Regions from separate parts of the Homo sapiens genome. Here regions 2, 3, 4 and 5 are each linked to region 1. Evidence: promoter capture Hi-C in 16 types of primary human blood cells and fetal thymus (Javierre and others, 2016). All regions are on one chromosome and are shown on one strand. The core of a region is centred on a gene start or on the middle of the fragment in contact, and the rest is flanking DNA. Distances in the headings are between cores, read along the strand shown.

What was found. Contacts are between HindIII fragments. The CHiCAGO score rates a contact against its expected background, and 5 or more counts as called.
Region 2: a fragment that was not itself captured here is called in contact with the fragment with the promoter of THSD7A in region 1 in 1 of 17 cell types (M2 macrophages); the score reaches 5.3 in M2 macrophages.
Region 3: a contact is called between a fragment that was not itself captured here and the fragment with the promoter of THSD7A in region 1, in 5 of 17 cell types (M2 macrophages, megakaryocytes, M1 macrophages and 2 more). The highest score is 9.6, in M2 macrophages.
Region 4: a fragment that was not itself captured here is called in contact with the fragment with the promoter of THSD7A in region 1 in 1 of 17 cell types (megakaryocytes); the score reaches 5.2 in megakaryocytes.
Region 5: a fragment that was not itself captured here is called in contact with the fragment with the promoter of THSD7A in region 1 in 1 of 17 cell types (M1 macrophages); the score reaches 5.1 in M1 macrophages.

Annotation. Positions count from the first base shown.
Region 1 is chr7:11,830,081-11,833,808 of GRCh38, reverse strand. It overlaps THSD7A (thrombospondin type 1 domain containing 7A), which reads left to right and starts at 1,611. Exons shown (of 28, transcript NM_015204.3): 1 at 1,611-2,052. The coding sequence starts at 1,863. RefSeq lists enhancers at 934-1,473, 1,474-2,014 and a silencer at 3,572-3,728. The HindIII fragment of the contact is 6,451 bases long and covers 1-3,728 here.
Region 2 is chr7:12,362,598-12,366,065 of GRCh38, reverse strand. The region is part of intron 13 of VWDE (von Willebrand factor D and EGF domains); the gene reads left to right. Among named protein-coding and RNA genes, the nearest start is that of VWDE, 40 kb to the left of the region's middle. The HindIII fragment of the contact is 5,208 bases long and covers 1-3,468 here.
Region 3 is chr7:12,493,652-12,497,582 of GRCh38, reverse strand. It overlaps LOC105375156 (a long non-coding RNA gene), which reads left to right and starts at 1,072. Exons shown (of 8, transcript XR_001745093.2): 1 at 1,072-1,287; 2 at 1,744-1,769; 3 at 2,031-2,065; 4 at 3,269-3,369. It also overlaps a transcript of C7orf78 not described here. RefSeq lists an enhancer at 33-661 and a silencer at 3,846-3,931. The HindIII fragment of the contact is 1,039 bases long and covers 1,042-2,080 here.
Region 4 is chr7:12,457,274-12,460,780 of GRCh38, reverse strand. No RefSeq gene overlaps it. Among named protein-coding and RNA genes, the nearest start is that of C7orf78, 45 kb to the left of the region's middle. The HindIII fragment of the contact is 1,269 bases long and covers 988-2,256 here.
Region 5 is chr7:12,390,173-12,394,050 of GRCh38, reverse strand. It overlaps VWDE (von Willebrand factor D and EGF domains), which reads left to right. Exons shown (of 29, transcript NM_001135924.3): 2 at 273-457. Among named protein-coding and RNA genes, the nearest start is that of VWDE, 12 kb to the left of the region's middle. The HindIII fragment of the contact is 2,437 bases long and covers 32-2,468 here.

The DNA of each region.
Region 1 (3,728 bases), core at 362-2,861:
CAACCTATAATCTTTTGATTGTTGCCTGTTTTTCACGAGTGAAGAAATAGTAAGCCACACTAGCTTATCTCTCCTAATCACAGACTCACAGCGCTCGGGCTCTCTGAGCTTTTAATTCCTTCTTAGAGGCCTAACAGAGCGGAAAGTAAACAAAGACCAAATTTGCAACCTTCAACGTAGCTAATTTCCTCTGATGTCAGAATACTTAAACAGGCAGGACCTGGGAATTATTTGATCAAACCCGCTTTTAATCTAATGCATGCAGAGGGGCTGTGTCTGGAAGGCTTTGCAAAATGACAAGGGTCCCAAGGGAGCCTTATGGAAGGTTTCCTCTTTCAGAAAGAGTAGCTTCCTCATCTTAAACTCTAGGGTAGCTATGTTGGAGTAAATTCATAAAAAGTAGTTTTCCTGCTTTTAAAATTTTATTTTATTTGGCTGAAAATTGCTGATGGGATAGTAGTTTTCTTTGGCTTTCCGTTTGCTGAATTTTTAATGGTTAAATGCCTACTATTTTAGCTTTACTGTGAAATGAATTAATAATAAAATATATTATTATTAGCTAAAGGGAGAAGGAGAAAGGGGAAAGCATTATCCGACTTCACACACATTCTTCTATTACTACTGGTAGAAGAAAGTGAAAACACAAAGGACAAAAGATGCAAACACATGTGGTTCCTTATTTAGATTGCGACAGGCATTTTGCTACAGTAAGAGTTAAGAAAAATCGGTGTCAGGGAAATTTTAAATGAAGAATTTACTAATTCCAAGATATCCAGACAGCATTACTGACTCAGTTTGACTCACAACTATCTGAATACTTAGAAGTAGCATATTTTTGAGGGAAAGAAGTAGATGAAGGGACAGAACTCTATACCTGAAATATAATTTTAATTTTAAGGGTTTTTTTTTTGTACAATTGTATTTATGTAATTAGGTAGCATTGCAAATACTCATTAACACTAATTCAGTTTTAAAGGCTATTAAAAGACAATTTAATTTGTCACAGAGCATCAATATTGCTCATATTTTTATTGATAATAGATTAAGTTAAAAACAACATTTAAAGAAGGGTTTAAGTGCATTTTGACAAGTCAACATTTCTGCTCTCGTGTTTTCACACCTGATCTCAAATACTGCTCCCCACACAAAGTAATTCAGAAGCCATGGCTTAAAAATAGATAATAAACACTGATGCTTTGTGTAAATACGTACTAAGAATAGCATGCCACTAGATCTAGCATTTGACTCCTTGGATGACAGTGAATATCAATGCCTGTTATTTGTCATTCTGAAATCTGCCGGGTGATGATTCTTTTTATTGGTGCATCCTTCCAAACATATTTCATCGCACCATGTGCACCGGAGTTCTTTAGGCGGGTATGTCGGAGGTGGGTGTCGCCTGGCTGGCCCCTCTCCCCTTTGCTCGCCCCCTTTCTCGCCCTCGCGCTCTCGCCTCCCTCTGCCTCCAGCCCCCTCTGCTCCTTTGGGCTCACGCCCCCCTCCTCCCCCTCCAGCTGGCGGGGGCTGCGCTGCCTCCCAGACCTAGCAGACCTGCTCAGTCAGCTGGGGCCCCCTGAGGACAGTTGCCTCCGGAGCCGCCGGGACCTGCCATTCTGCGAGGAATGGCAGCGGCAGCAGCATCCCCGCCAGAGGCGGCGGCGGCGGCGGCAGCGGCCACGGCCACCACCGCGGACGCTATTGTTCCCTGGTGTTAGACGCGCTCTCCCTCCTTCTCATCTGAAGCGAACAATAGCAGGAAAGAGCTTTGCTTTCTGTACTCTTTGAAAAGACGTTCCAAGAGCGGAGAAAAATTCCCTGCCGAGCGTGCTACGGCTCTGGACCCTGGAGTGGCTGCAGGCGGCATGGGGCTGCAAGCCAGGCGCTGGGCGTCCGGGAGCCGGGGCGCTGCGGGGCCGCGCCGGGGCGTCCTGCAGCTGCTGCCGCTGCCGCTGCCGCTGCCGCTGCTCCTGCTGCTGCTGCTACGCCCGGGCGCCGGCAGGGCTGCGGCGCAGGGCGAGGCGGAGGCGCCCACCCTCTATCTGTGGAAGACTGGTAAGTGGGACGGAGTTACCCTTTCCCCATCTTCACATCTGGGGCCACATTAAGGAGCTGGTGGGCTTCTGTAGGGACCCCGGTGCTTTTGGATGGCTTGGTTATGCTGGTATCCTAAGGTAAAAAGTATGATTTCTTAGGAAGCAAATAGGTCATGTCCGATGCAATTAGGAAAGAAAAGCATAACAACTAAGAGGCAACAGTGAGTAGCTGGAATATTTCTCTCGCAGCTCTGTAATGAGGGCAACGCGCACTTCCATGATGAAGTGCATTATTTTTAACCCCTGGATTTTCATTCTACTAGGAGTTTCTCAAACAGATTTCTAGCAAAGAACAAGCAAAGAGTTTAGTCTCAGTCTTTATTCTTTAGGCAAAGCAATATGCTCACTGTCATGACATTTGTGGATATAGAGTTGAATTTGTTAACTTTAGCTTTGTGATATGTGGGACACCTCAGAAACAAGCCAAGTGAGGGCGGTTCCAACAATTAAAGGCAAATGGGGCTCCAGTGAGCCTTCAGGGAAAGACTGAAAACTCAATTATTAACTAGCGAGTCGGAGGATTTTTAAAGTGTACAACTTTTAGGATGTCTGGGTTCAAACTTTCTCTTCCTTCCTTGAGAATTGTTTTGCTTTGTTTTTCAACCACCCAACAAAAGCAGCTACTAACTGCCCATCATTACCCATTGGCAAAATGCTTGGAGTTTCTGGCGGGGGCCGTGACAGGCAGGAAAACAATACGGAGTGAGGAATTACCAACCCCTTTTCTGCGGGTTCGCTTTCTCTCTGCATTAAAAAAACATTGAGAATTCCTTAGGGGACCTGAAACTTCACATGTTCATAGGAATAAAATGGGAAAAGATTATTCCTGTTGCTTAGAGCTAGGGGGTAATTTAAGAATAACTTGGTCATGCCAAACATTAAGAGAATGTTGTAGTTGAAAGGGAAAGTATGTATTCGTCATGGGGTTGCAAACAGGTTTCAGGGAGTGAGTGTCTTTTCCTGCTTCAGCCCATCTCTGCACCACTACTGAAGAGACAGCTCAGTCTACTCTACAATTGCATCACTATCGATATCTGGAATTTTTAAAGAAGTTGCAGCTATCCAGAAATTTAGTGAGGAGATTAAACAGAAATTTATTTAAAGTCAAAGTACACAATTTGTCTTAGAAGATTACATGAAACATATACACATTTTAAAAAGCAAGATTATTCTTGCTAACACCTTAAGTTTGAAGATCAGTTGAGTAATGAATTCAAATGAAATAAAATTAATTTACTTCAATTTGAAACGAAGATTTGAAGATCTCTAATTTAGCGTAAGCTAGGGTTTTACTTGTTAAAAGCACATTCATAATGACAAACATTAATCAAATTATAATTTACCATTAAATGGTATCATATGGATGCTTGGGGAGAGCTTCTTAGGTAAGTCAGTGTAGGATGAAATAGTAGTTGCCTAGTTGAAATTTATACTAGCAAAGTAACAAGAGCCAAGCAATAATTCAGATGGAAAAGAGCCCAGCCAACATTCACTGTACAGCATCTGAGGTGTCAATATATGTCATCATAAATGTCATGGTAGGAACACAAGCCAATAAACAGTTTAAAATAGTGGGAAGCTCTCAGAAACAATGATATGGAGACCTTGATTCCAGTGCCAGTCCTAGCTCTTGCT
Region 2 (3,468 bases), core at 320-2,819, 530 kb before region 1:
GGGAGTTAAGAGGGACGCTGCCACTTTTAAACCATCGAGATCTCATGAGAATTTCCTTACTATCATGAGAGCAGCATGGGAGAAACTGCCCTCATGATCCAGTCAACTCCCACTATGTCCCTCCCTCGATCCCTGGGGATTACAATTCGAGATGAGATTTGGGCGGAGACACAGAGCCAAACCAAATCAAAAACTATAGAAAGAAAGATGTTCACTTGCCCAAACTAAAATTAGAGTGCATATCCGTCTTTATTTTACATTGTGCTGAAGTTAAGTCTGTCTCTCCTAGCGCCAGTCTTGCCCAGTGCTGGGTTTTAAAGGCTCTTCTAGCCTTTAATTCATACCTCCAGTCAAGTCTGTTTAATGTGCCACTATTTTAGGATCCCCAACCCTACGAACATGGGCCCTGCTCAAAGCCTTGCATTCACTTTGTGTGGAATGTGCTCGCCCTGCCACTAAGCTAATGTCTTCTCCTAGCTCCCCTATTACATGTTCAGTCAACGTGAATCGATTCCTGCTCACCTTCTTAGTTCAAATTTCAGTTCCCTTCGAAGATTGGGTTCCTCTTTAAAATCTAGCATTTTGGAAATCAGGTCATGCAAAATCCTTAATGACTTCCCATTTTACGAAGTAATTTTTAAAAACTTTTATTTTGGAATAACTTGATACTCACAGAAAAATTGTAAAAATAATGCAGTTTCCAGTAATTCTTCACCCAGTTTCTCATAAAGTTAATATCTTATTTATAAACCATATTCATAAAATAATTATTCAAATCAGAAAATTCACCTCGATACAATACTATTAACAAATTTACAGACCTTGTTCTGTAAATTTACCAGTTGTCCAACTAATAATGGTCCTTTTCCTGATTCAGGATCTAATTTAAGATTTTATACTGCATTTTGTCATGTTTCTTCAGTCTCTTTCGTATTGTGACAGTGCTCCATCTTTCTTTATCTTTTGCACACTTGGCTCTTTTGAATATTGTGACGGTGCTCCATCTTTCTTCATCTTTTGCACACTTGGTTCTTTCGAAGAGCACTGGCCAGTTATTTTGTGGAATGTTCCTTTTTTATGGTTAGATTGAGGTCATGCCATGTTGTACAATTTTTAGTGCATCCTTTCATGATGCAATGTATCTAATCACGGGCAATGTAAATTTTGATCACTTACTTAAGGGGTTTTTGCCATGTATCTTCACTTTAAGCTCCCTGTTTTTCCCTTTTTAACTAATAAATACGTTGTAGGGAGACACTTTTAGATTATGCAAATATATGATAGCTCCTCAAACATTTTCTTCCTAATTTTAGCATCCAACTATAATTTTTGCTTGTAGCAATTATGACTATGGTATTTACCAGTGGTGATTTTCTATTTCCATCATTTCTTCTACACATATTATCTGGAATTCTACTGAAAGGAAGAGCTGTTCCTTGTTTCCAATTTATTTATTCATTTATTTACTCATGCCAGTGTAGACTAATGGAAACTTATTTCATGAATTATAACTCAATGCTATCATTCTTTATTTGGCTGTTTAAATTATTCTAGCTTTGACCATTGGGAACTATTACAAATTCGTTCACACGTCCTTTTAACTTGCTCCCATAATTTTTTGAACAATTTATCACATTCTGGCATCATATGATATTCCAGACTCATATTTTTCCTACCCCAACTCTAGAATCAACTGTTTCTCTAAAGACTGTAGTTCCATTTATCAAAGAGGGTCATTTAAAATCCAAGACTTGGGTGCAAGGTGTGCTTCTTGTTACAGGGTAGTTAATCCTTCTTGGCCCTTTTAATGGATACAGTTAGAAAATCTATGTATGTACACTTATACACACACGTAACTACCTATCTATCGGTTTATCTATCTGTCATCTCTGTGAGTTGATACTGATACTTCTGATTTCAGTGCAGTGCCATAAGGTTCATTCTAGCCTTCTCCTTTCCTTATTTGTAACTCTTTTCTTTACAAGTGAAAACTGGCTCTCATGATCCACAATATATTTACCTGGTTTCTCAATCTAAATGTATATGTAAGTCAGTTTCAGAAATTCTAAGCCTTTCCTCTGTAAAAAAACAAATTCATGAAACAAGGTCACAATATAAAGGCAGATACTGCTTTCCAAAGTGAGTTAGATTAACTATTTTCCACTCTGTTTAGAGTGGTTATCTGTTTTATTTATAATACAACTAGGTTTTAAAAATATTTGTCTTCCATTTTGAGTTTCTTCCACACTCTGGTTGATTATAATTATTTAATTATTTGGAGGGTATATGAAATATTATAGTTCTAAGAGTTGAAGCTATACAAAGGTATGCACATAGAATTGTTACTTTCTTGTCATCCCTGTCATCTGCTTTCCATCACTCCTTCTTTTCATTAAAGTATGTTTCTACTGTCATCATTTTCTGGTTAATCCTTACTATATTTCTTTGGTACAAAAAATGGATAGAAACTCTTTTTTTAATATAAAGTGTAACATATTTTACATGCTTTTTTCTACTTTTGTATTAGTAGTTTTAAGCAAGTCTTTAGCTAGAGATTCAACCACTTAAGCATTTCTTTCACTTCCTCCCCCAAAGCAGTCAAGACTCTACAAAATCCAATTTTAAGGTTGCTGATTTATAGGATTAAATACAGGATGTTAACCAAGAAATGGATGGCACATTATGATTTAGCTCTTGTCTATATTTGTAGGCTTGAACTTCCTGTTTATGCTGTTCCATGCATCCCTGTCTTTTTCATACACTATTCCCTCCATTCATGTGAATTGCACTCTTTCCACTTCTGCTCCCAGTGTCCAAATAGCAGTCTCCCTTTTTATTTTCAGGAAGAGAAGTGTTTGCTTTTTTGAAGGCTTCTTTGACTGTGCTAGTTAGTTAGACTTAATAACTCCTTTTGTATTATATCTTATTTGAGTCTCTTTTAATGCAATAATACAATTATATATTGTCTGTCATTTTCTTTGTGATCTTTTTTCACTGAGATATTTTCAGCACATAATATATACTCACAAAATATTGATGAATGAAAAGGAAATAGAACACTGTATATTCCTCATTTTGGGTAGGCCCCTTGAAATAGAAAGTTGGGAATAATCTCTATATTGCCAGTCATTAGCTGGAGCTTTCTTTCTGCACAAGAAACCGAGACTGTACATTCACCTAAGTGTAGATATCATGACTACTCTGAGAAATCATCATTCTTCTTCTACAAGAGGGAAACCACTGGTAGATCTGCTAGGCTAGACTCTCCATACTCCCTTAAATATGGAGATTTGCAGCTCACTCTTTCAATCATCAAATCTTCAAAAACGTAATTTCTGTTAGCTGCAGATTAGGGTGATCATGTTTTCCTTTCCCTTTCCTGCTGACCCACAATATTGAAGCATCAGCATGCTCTATGACAAATTCTGAGTGGTTGAAAACATTTGACAGTAATAAGTTTCAAAGAAA
Region 3 (3,931 bases), core at 312-2,811, 660 kb before region 1:
GGACCCTCCGAGCCGGGTGCAGGGTATAATCTCATGGTGCACCGTTTTTTAAGCCCGTGGGAAAAGCGCAGTATTCGAGTGGGAGTGACCCGATTTTCCCGATTCTCCAGGTGCCGTCCGTCACCCCTTTCTTTGATTAGGAAAGGGAACTCCCTGACCCCTTGCGCTTCCCGAGTGAGGCAATGCCTCGCCCTGCTTCTGCTCGCGCACGGTGTGCGCACTCACTGACCTGTGCCCACTGTCTGGCACTCTCTAGTGAGATGAACCCGGTACCTTAGATGGAAATGCAGAAATCACCCGTCTTCTGCGTCGCTCAGGCTGGGAGCTGTAGACCGGAGCTGTTCCTATTCGGCCATCTTGGCTCCTCCCCCCGCCATAAATAATTTTGATTTTTTTCTTTACAGTTTATTTGATTCGGGCTAGTTACTTACTCTTCTTTGGTCCAAAATCTCCTATGACTTGGGTATTAACTTCTCTTCTAATATTTTTCTAACGGAATATAAAATTTCCTAGACAAAGATCCACAATGGCTGGAGTCTTTCTTTTAACTGTTCATTTTATTTAAAGTGAAAGTTTGCCACCAGGTGGCAGTAAATTACTTATAATTTTGTCCTAGTTTATAAACTAAGAAGCCAAAATTTTTTCTGTATTATTTTCCCTGATGTTCAATTTTAAGGTGTTTTTATTTCTAATGAAAACGGCAGTAAAGTTGAATTGACTAAATCTCTTATAGTTTTGGAAATAGAATTAACCTATCTTTATGCTATCTGATTTATGCCTCATTGTTTTTTGCATAGAGATACATATGGTTCTTTATCAAAAGCATATATACAAATACCTACTTATGTTTAGTTCACTGTTATTAGTTGTTTAGGGTACAAAAATAGATTATGACTCCAGATTTCAAGTAAATTATAAGTAATTGGCTAGAAAAGATACAAACCTATAAGAATACATCACGAGATAAGGTGCTAAATGCCAAGTGATTTGTCCTGACGGTTACTCTCATGAGAAATTAGTGAGAGGAAGGTCTCTGAAGCTTGAGAATGTCTCCAAAGATTTCTTAGAGCATCTGAGATCATTACTAACCCTTGATGACAGTAGAGTACTTAATAAAAGGGGAGAAGAAGGGAAAGGAGTTTGGATGGACGAACAGCATAAGCAACATTCTGGAATTTTCTTTAATGCTCTCATGAATGCATTCTTGGAATTTTCTAATATGTAAACATTATTTTGTGGCCAACTGACTTCAATTATATGTAGAACCATCCAAAAGTCTCCTCTCAGGTAGGTAATTCTGAATGTATATTTCTGAATTTCCAAATTAGAAATTTAGAGTTAGAAATTTTGAGTTTCTCAGCCAGACGAGGTGGCTCACGCCTGTATTCCCAGCACTTTGGGAGGCCGAGGGCGGCGGATCACGAGGTCAGGAGATCGAGACCATCCTGGCTAACACGGTGAAACCCCGTCTCTACTAAAAATACAAAAAATTAGCCAGGTGTGGTGGCGGGCACCTGTAGTTGCACCTACTCTGGAGGCTGAGGCAAGAGAATGGCGTGAACCCGGGAGGCAGAGCTTGCAGTGAGCCGAGATCACGCCACTGCAGTCTGGCTTGGGCGAAAGAGTGAGACTCCGTCTCAAAAAAAAAAAAAATTTTTTTTGAGTTTCTCAGCTCCACAAATTTGGGAACGCAACAAGTTGTGGCAAATGAAAACCTCAACACTCTGATTTCTGTATTTCTAGGCATTAAGGAACATGAACGCTTTTAAGTAAGTTATTTGAATTACATATGTTTGTATAAATGGAATAACTTAAAATTTACTGTGGTAATAATTTTTTCATAGAACAGATAATTGCAACTTGAAATATTCTATAAGTTAAAAAAGAAGTAAAATAGGCTTTAAATAGTGTTCCGAAAAAGAAAATAAAAACAAGAGACTTTCTTTACTTGGAAAAAATAAGTAATATCAACTAATGCCATAATGTAGCTAAACAGTCTAACTCCTATTTTGTCTCTTTCTCTTTCAAAGGGGATTTCCAAACTGGAAATAACCAACACAACTAGGTAAGAATTGAAGCTTAAGAAAGGTGAGAGGATAGTAAAATAACATATTTACATAAATTCAGGTTCATAAAGCCATATTAATTACATATCAGCACAATAAGACGACTGGCAGTGGGAAATGAGCTGGCACCCTTTGGAAACCTATTGGGAAGGTGAGGTGCTTTAAGACTGGACATTGGAGATTAGACATGCCTGAATTTAATCCTTGAAAGAGCTGTGCAAAACAGCCACTTTGTGGCCACCATCTGACATGTCACACAGTGTGGGATAGGGAATAGACTTTCATGAGTAACAAATTTACAGCGTAAGATGAGGAAAAAAAATGAGTGTGTTTGTGTGGTCTAATCCTTTTAATATCCCCCGGATGAATGACCAGGCCCAGGACACTCTGTTGGACACATGGTGGGTGAACATTTTGGGTGGTAAGAATTCCTCCTCTTGACATTCTCCTTTACCACAGAGCAAGCCTGAGAGCAATTTTATCAATGGGAGAAGACGGGCAGAACAGACTGACTAACAGGTTATCTGGGCACCATCTTTACTGAGTTTGGATGTCAACTGTGCGTGGAGGTGTTGTTTGGGAAAAGTTGTCTATCGGTACCTGGTGACTTTGGGGACCTGTGTGAAGTTGCATTCCTCTTTTTCAAGGGAAAGGGCTAACAGTTCAGTGGTAGGTTGAGTTTGAAAGCAGCCTTACCACTAGGAGGAGGTAGCAGCCCCAAATTCTAATTTTCTCAGTGATGAGGCAGCCAAAGGTGAGCTCTCAATGTCATTTTAGGACAGTCATGCTTATTGCACCACAGAACCTCAATAAATTCTAGAATATGTATTTCTAAACAGATGATCAGTTATTGCTGTAGGGAAATAGAGGTCAATTCACAGTGATTTGTTTACAAAGTAGGGCTATGCATGAGTAAAATACACCTAATAATGTACGATGCTATCATATTGTGCCTATAATAAATTTGGCTGCTTGTCAAGTCTGAGGTTGTCTGTGTCAGCACTTCTGATGTTCAGAGCTTGCTTGTTAATTTGTGTTTTTTCTCTCCCTTTTTTCTAAGGAGCCTCTTAAATTTATTATGGTTAGACACCTCCTTCTTCAATTATCTATGTTCAAGTCACAGAGATTAAAATATGCTCCCTTGACTAAGTGGGAGTGATACTTCAGAGAAGGAATTATCTTGTTCCATATTTACTTACCAGGTCAAGCATCCATCATGCACCATGTACACCACAGTGCACCACAGCTGAGACCAGTGTGGATCCCACCATCAGCAGCTTTTCCAAAGGACCCAGGCAAAATGGTCAATATTGCCTTCTCTCCTCACTTTTACCTCACCTTTCAGCCTCTTGGTCCCTTCCTCCACTCCCACCCTAAGATGCTTATAGTCTATTTGTCATCCTCCAGTGGTTTATAATTCCTGTTTCACTACCTTATTTAGCCTGTTGCCTTTTACAGCATTCCAAAATGCTCATTTATTCTCTTTTATGACTCATCCAATACTAACCCTATTTACCATTCTAAACTGAAGTAGACTGCACCTCTTTTTCTCAAGTACTAATGTAGAATTTCAGTTTTATTTGTCCAATTTCAAACACTAGGAAAGTTTAAGAAATAATCTTCGTGCCTTCCTGATAGTGGCAATTGAACATTTTTCTTGACATAGAACAATATTTGGTCTTAACTGATCTTTGCTGTGGACCAGGCACTGTTCTAGGTATTTTATACTTGCCAGCAAAATCTCACAGCAATCTTTGGGAGTAGTTACTTTTATTATCTCATTTTACAGATGAAGAAATGTAGAAAGATAGTCTAACAGCTTGCCCAAGATTATACATCTAATAAGCAGCTGGGTCAGGAGGCAA
Region 4 (3,507 bases), core at 373-2,872, 630 kb before region 1:
CCAAAGTGCTGGGATTACAGGCATGAGCCACCGTGCCCGGCCCTCTTTCTCTTTTTAAAAGCAGATCTCATCTAAATCTCATTACCTCCCAAAGGCCCCACTTCTTAATTTCATACCATTGAGGGTTAGGTTTCAACAAAAAATGATTTAAGGGGACACAAACCTGCAGTCCATAACAAGCAGGTAGTGTGGGTCAACTATGGTTTTGTTTTTAACAAATGTTTTGACTGTTCAAAGCCTCTTGCAATTCATATGAATTTGAGGATCATCTTTTCCACTTCTGCTAAAAAGCTGTGGCAGTTTGGATAGGGATTGCATTGAACCTGTAGATCACTTTGGATAGAGTTAATGTTTTAACAATATTAAGTCTTCTTACCTATGAGCATGAGTTGTTGCTCCATTTATTCAGTTTTTTCAAAATTTGTTTCAACAATGCTTTATAGTTTTCAAGTAAACTATAAAACAAAAGTTTTGCAAATTTTGGTTAAATTTATTTCCTAAATATGTATATTATTATTTAAATGCTATTGTAAATGAAATTGCTTTATTAATTTCCTTTTTGCATTGTTCACTGCAAATATTATAGGAACAAAATTGATTTTCGTCGTTTATTGATATTGTTCAACATTGCTAACCACATTTCTTAGCTCTAATAGCTTTCTTGTGATTTTTTTTGGGATTTTCTATATGCAGGATCATGTTATATGTAAATAGAGATAGTTTTACTTAATCCTTTCCAATTTGGATGCCTTTTCTTATCTAATTGTACTGGCTAGAACTACTAGTACAATAATGAATAGCAATGGTGAAAGCAGACATTCTTGTTATGTTCTTGAGCTTAAAACCATTTATGCCTAGTGTCCCATTATCGGAACACTAAGCATATGGGAATAATTTATATCCAACTGCTCAAGGTTATTGTCAAGGTCTGATTGCAAAAATTCAAAAAGTTGCAACCTCAGGCATAAATGGGTTATGGAGAAAGCTTTCAGTCTTTCCCCATTGAGTATGATGTTAGCTGTGGGTTTACTCCTGATCATGTTTATGGGAATATTAATTATTATTGCATTCCAGAAACTTATTTGGCAATATCAACACAATTAAAAATAAAAAATGCTTTGGAGTCTCTGTTTATATATGATTTCCACAGAGAGAAAAAGACCATTTTTTTTTCTTAAAGACAATTTCTCCAGATAAATTGTAAAGTATCTGTGTGATGAAACTCTGAGGGAGGGGGCTCTCAGAAACTGGTATTAACTTGTTTATCTATAAAGAATAAAATGTTGATTGGATTGTGGTTGTGGAATACTTTGTATCTATTAAAAATAAGTTAGATGTACACATATGAACCCGGAGGAATGTATAGTATCTGTTTTAAGGTAGAAAACTATTTTACACAAATTAAGACAACACTAGCTCATTTTTTAAAAAATGAACCAAAACCACCTCAAATTCCTGTGTGTGTGTGTGTGTGTGTGTGCACTTTTTATGAGTGTGTATAAATATGGAGAAGGATGCATGTCACGTGGTAAGGATTGGTTACCTAGGAAATAGAAGAATGGAAAGAATTTGGTAACTTTTGTCATTTTTTTTTAGAGTATTCTGTATTATGGTACAAATACTTCATAGGACATATATAGATAATACATCCTATGTAATAATATGTAAAAAATAATTAACATGTATTAGAAATAAATTGAAAAATAATTCAGGAAAAGCCGTATAGAATGGGTGATAGGTACTTCGGGAACAGCCAAGAGAGAGGTTTGTCCAGAGAAAAATATATTACCAAAACCAAATTTAATCAACTTCATTGTTATTCTCAGCTACCAGCAAACAGATGTAGAGACCAACACAACGGCACTTACAAAAGTCTGGAAGGAGTGAGACAATGAGGTATGTAGGGACCCTGGGGATATTGAGTAATTAAGACAGAAACACTCACTTAAGGAGCTCCCAAGTTAATAGATTGTATTTTCTTCCCTTGCTTAGTATTTTTGGATAGATATAGATATCCTCCTATCTATGCACAGCCCATTTTCCCCCTAATTTTAGGGGCTTGCTGCCACCTATGGATAAGAATAGAGTATTACAATTTGCACCAACACACCCTAACATCCACCAGTGAGCTAGATAACTGTGGATATCAGAGGAGGCTTGAGTTTGATGTATTTTAGTTCGGTTCAACTCAAACAATATTCATTATCATTATTAAACACCAAGTTAGGTATTGGATCTTCATAAATAAATAAAGCTTTGGAGTTAATGAATTATTGAACTCAATGAGTTCATAGCTTAGTAGGTAAGATAAAGTTGGATATAATTTTAATACCCTGAAGTTAACACAAATGTATAATGAGGTAGGAGTGGAGTTCAGTTTTAATGATATATAAGTGTGAAACAGGAAGTGTGAGGAGTAGAGTCTGAGAATTTACAAAGCTCAAATCATGGAAAACTGTGTGTGCTGTGGGTGGTATATGTGAAGTCCTGGACATGCTGGGTTCAGAGGTTGGTTATATGGATCTTAGGCTCAGTTAGAAGATCAGGACTGGGGATACACATTTATGATTTGGTGGGTAAGAATAATAAATAGGCCATGGGACAGAATGAATCATGCAAGAAACGATGTAGACAAAGTGAAAAAAGAGCAATGGACAGAGAAGTTAACAGCATATTAATTAGGAGTCAAATGAGCGAGTAATCTACCAGAAAATGGTTTATAAGGGTAAAACAAGAGCTCTTAATGGCACTGAGCTGAAATTTTAAATTATTTGTTCCTATGTCTCAGGATCCTTAAGAAAATTTAGGCTGGCCTTGGTGGCTCACACCTGTAATCCCAGCACTTTGGGAGGCCAAGGTGGGCGGATCACTTGGGGTCAGAAGTTCGAGACTAGCCTGGCCAACATGGTGAAACCCTGTCTCTGCTAAAAATACAAAAATTAGCTGGGCGTGGTAGCACATGCCTGTAGTCGCAGTTACTTGGGAGGCTGAGGCAGGAGAATTGCTTGAACCTGGAAGGAGGAGGTTGCAGTGAGTCGAGATTGCACCACTGCACTCCATCCAGCCTGGATGACAGAGGGGGACTCCATCTCAAAAATAAAAAAATAAAAAGGGAAGAAGAATTTAATAAAATCACATGTGTGCTTGTGGAGAAAAAGACAAAATACCAGCATAAAACAATGCATCAGGTTTTCTGATTTCCACTGAACTTAAACTATAGAATATATAAAAATAATATATTCACTAGAATATATAACATTAACTAATAGTAGTATAATGAGCATAGTATTAAGTTTTGGGAGTTAATATGCCTCATACAATCAACTGTAGAATATAAGATCAGTATTAACTGGTATTTATGCCTTCCCCCTTGAGTTTTATTTTTTCAATTATAGAGATAAAACCTGCAAGTAAGAAAAAAACATGTTTTTTTTGTTTATTTGTTTGTTTGTTTGGTTTTGTTTGAGATGGAGTGCTGGAGTGCAGTGGCATGATCTCTGCTCACTG
Region 5 (3,878 bases), core at 1-2,500, 560 kb before region 1:
CGAATTAAATGAAAATAAAGTTCTTAAAGCTTAAGTGTTTCAAAAGTACATTCTAAAGAGTTTTGTTGATTTGTTTATCGCATTTATGAAACATGCAAGTTAGTTAAGTCATTTATGACTTACTAAGAGACCCTGACATTTCAGAGGGTCTTTATGTGCAATAGTGAGTTTATTTGCTTTATTTTTTGTTTTGGGAATCAATTTTAATTGAGGACCGAACTATGTCAACAAACAAAACACATTACATAAAAACACCTGTCTTTCCATACTAGCTCAGGAGTGCTCTCCTGGGGGACACCAGTTTCTTCGGAGTCCTTATAGAAGTGTCCGTTTTGACTCATGGCACCTCCAGCAGTCAGCTGTTCAAGACCTAATATGTGACCATTCCCTCTCCCCTGGATGGTATAGATTTCTCATCCTTGACAGACCTGCCGAGATGCCAACCAAATGTGTTGAGGTATGTCAACTCCCTAAGTACTGCATGTTATTTTCCTTATGTGTTTTTCATATGAGAATTGTATCTTTTTACCACCAGCTTATTTCTCATGCTAAAATGTTGTTTTAATTTTGTATTGAGTTAATCTGAAAGACTATTCCCACATTACCTAGTCTAATAATAATAGTAATTGTTAGTGTTATGCTCCATGCAGTCCAGAAACACTTTCACCGACAATATCTTGTATAAAAGTTTACAACTGTAGCATACAATCTATCATCATTTCCATCAAACAGTGCAGAAAACATATATTCTTAGGCATAGTGCTCTTACAGTCACAGGTAGCAGGTCAAAAAGCTGAGTTTTGAATACAGGCAGTCGTTCTCCAGGGCTCAGGTGCTTAGCTGTATTACCTGCAAATAGTAAAATACTGTGTGTCTAAAGTGCTTGTTTTTGTCAGTTGTTACCTGTCACTTCATTTCTTAACTGATGGAGTAAAACTTACGGGCTCAGCACCTCCTATTCTAAGACTAATAAGAACTCAGCCTGGCAGTGAAATCTCCAGGTATTTTCTGATCACAATTGAAAGACAGTGTACCTGCAGGACATTCAATACTCTGGAGGCATATGGCCTTATCTCACTGAATCTCTCTCCTCAATCCCCAAATTTGTGCAGCCAGCATACCTTTTTTTCTTTATACTTGTGAATATGTAAGTGTATGTCTTTCAAACACATCAGGTTTAAATGGACAAAATTAAAAAGGTTTTGTACATGAACTCACATCGGATGTGTTTTTTTTTTTTTTGCAACTTAACTTTACGTAACGTTCACTCTTTTTACAACACGATATGATTGTGATCATAGCATTGTCTTGTATAGTGAACTAGCCCAAGTGGCTTCTTTCATTCTTATTTCATTTGACAAATACATTTTCTTCCAAAATGCTTCAAAAAATAAGCAGAAGAAAAAACATAAAGTGTGATTTCTTGGGTTGTCCCTCAGCTATCTTGCATTACTTATCCAAGCCACTCTGAATTTCTATTGACAATTCTACTTATCCTTGGCATGATTTTCAAATGCAAGTTCCCCTAATTCGTTCATAGTCCCCATTCATCTAATGATACTGTCATGAAATAGACATTATTTCTACTTATCATACTTCGACCAGTTATCCTGTCAGTTCAACTCTTATTATTGATACCACATTTTTATCCACATGATCTAAGGAATGAGACTAAGTCTAAATCTGTCAAAACACTAAGCCCATTAACTCAGCATCCTAAGTTATATGATCAAAATGGTAAGAAGGGTTTTAATCTGACGTTTATTTTGCAGCTTATAAATTCCCTGCACTTGCGGACATTATTGCATATGTAAACTCACTAGTTCTCTCAGTGATGCTTTTAGGTAGCTAGTGTTACTTCATTATAAAGATGTGGACACAGACACTAAGCATGAGTCACATGACCAAAGTCATGTACCTGATCTTCTCCCTTATCACAATCTTTCTCAGCTGACTGGTTTCCCAAGTGAGTTCTGCATAAATAGGTGTTCAGTTGTGATAGGTAGCTAATAGAGGCATTGTATTATTGAAGACATATGTCTGTGTCATGCTTCCCAAATTACTAACGTGTTCATCATCACTCACAATTTTACCCTATATAATTATACACTTTTTGGGTGTGAGTTCATTCTTAAAGTCGATTTTCTTTTAACCTAGAGGTCATGCAACTACCATTGGCCCCTGGAGAGAGATCACATCATATAAGATTATGTCTTAGCAAAAGGCTTGTTTTCCTTATTGTTATTCACATTTTATAAATACTGCAGACACAGGAATCATTTTCCTTTTTAAGCACTAATGTAAAAAGATCTCTGGAAAGACATTGAAATTTTAACAGTGTTTAATTTTAATGTGTGGCATTGTGGCTAAGTCTCATTATCTCTTTTTTGTTTATTTGCTCATTAGTCGCTTTTGTGACACTTCATTTGTAAAGAACTAAAAAAAATTCAGAATTTAAAAGAAAAGCTTGAGAAAATTGGAGGAACTTCACCACATTTAAAAATATTTGTGTTTTTCTCTTAAGGCTGATTTAGCTATAATTGTTTCTAGAACCTCACACGAATGTGTAGGTGAAACAGTTTCCTTGGCTGTTTTCCTGGAGATCAGCTAACCTGAGCAGGCTGTGCTCCAGGAGGAAGTGTTCCCTATCCCCACCCTCTCATTCCTTTTTTGTACTAAGGCTTTAAAGTATTCAACCAGAAAATCAATAGATTTTTTTTCTCTACAGGTTAATACACGTGGACTTACATAAATTACTATTTGTAATGTTTTAAATAATGCTTATGCATTACATAAAGCTTAGGAAATAAAGAACAGGAATGGAACAACATTTCTTCATAATCTATCCACACAGTCATAACTACTGTTATTAACATTTTGCTATTGTTTTATCTTATTTATATTTCGTAATGTTCATGTTATATGTTCAATTGAAAAACATGCTATTCTTTTTCAGTTACAGTTATAGCATTATCATTTTCCTATTATTATAAATTCATTTTCATAATTTTTGAAAATAATATTATGTCATACATGTATCATATTTATTTAAACCATCACCATATGTGTGGACATTCAGGATTTTGCTATAATAAGTAATTCTGCAATTGACGAATGTACATGTAATTATTGTTTTAATTTTAGTGTCTTTAGTAAGATTGATTTTTATAAGTTAAATTAGTAATGGTTAAAGTCTTTTTGAGGCTTTTGATACATATAGTTGTTCATTTAAAACATAGTGATAATTTTTAATTCCAATAGCAGTACATAAACATACCTTTTGCAATACTGAATATTCTCATGTATTTATTAGGCATTTGTGTTTCTTTTGTGAATTACCTATTTGTACATTTTGCCCATTTGTAGTCTTAGAGTTTTTAAATGGATAATATTACATGGTTAAAATAAAATAACAAATATAGTATAATTATACATAAATATAACACAATATAGTACTATTTACATATAATTTTATTATTTAACTTTTATATTTTAAAAATTATAATTCAATCACATATATCAATATTTCCTTTATGTTTTTCCTTTGCTTTGAAGCATAGAAATAATAACAAGAATTATAACCTGGCTAACGATTTTTTAGCCATTACTATGTAGAAGTTGCATTATATACATTACTTTATCTATACCTCACTATGGCACTTTGAGGTGGGTACCACTTCCACCTAATATAAAAGAGAAGGATGTTGAGTGCCTTGTCCAAGATCATGCATTTAGTAAGGGCCCTGGTTCTTCCCAAGTCATACATAGTTTCTTCTTATTTTTCCTGGGTTATTTTTCTATTTAATTCTATTTTTTATCTGAAAAGGATTTTGATAAATGACTTCAAGTGAGGTTTAAACTTTCTTTCTTTCTTTTTT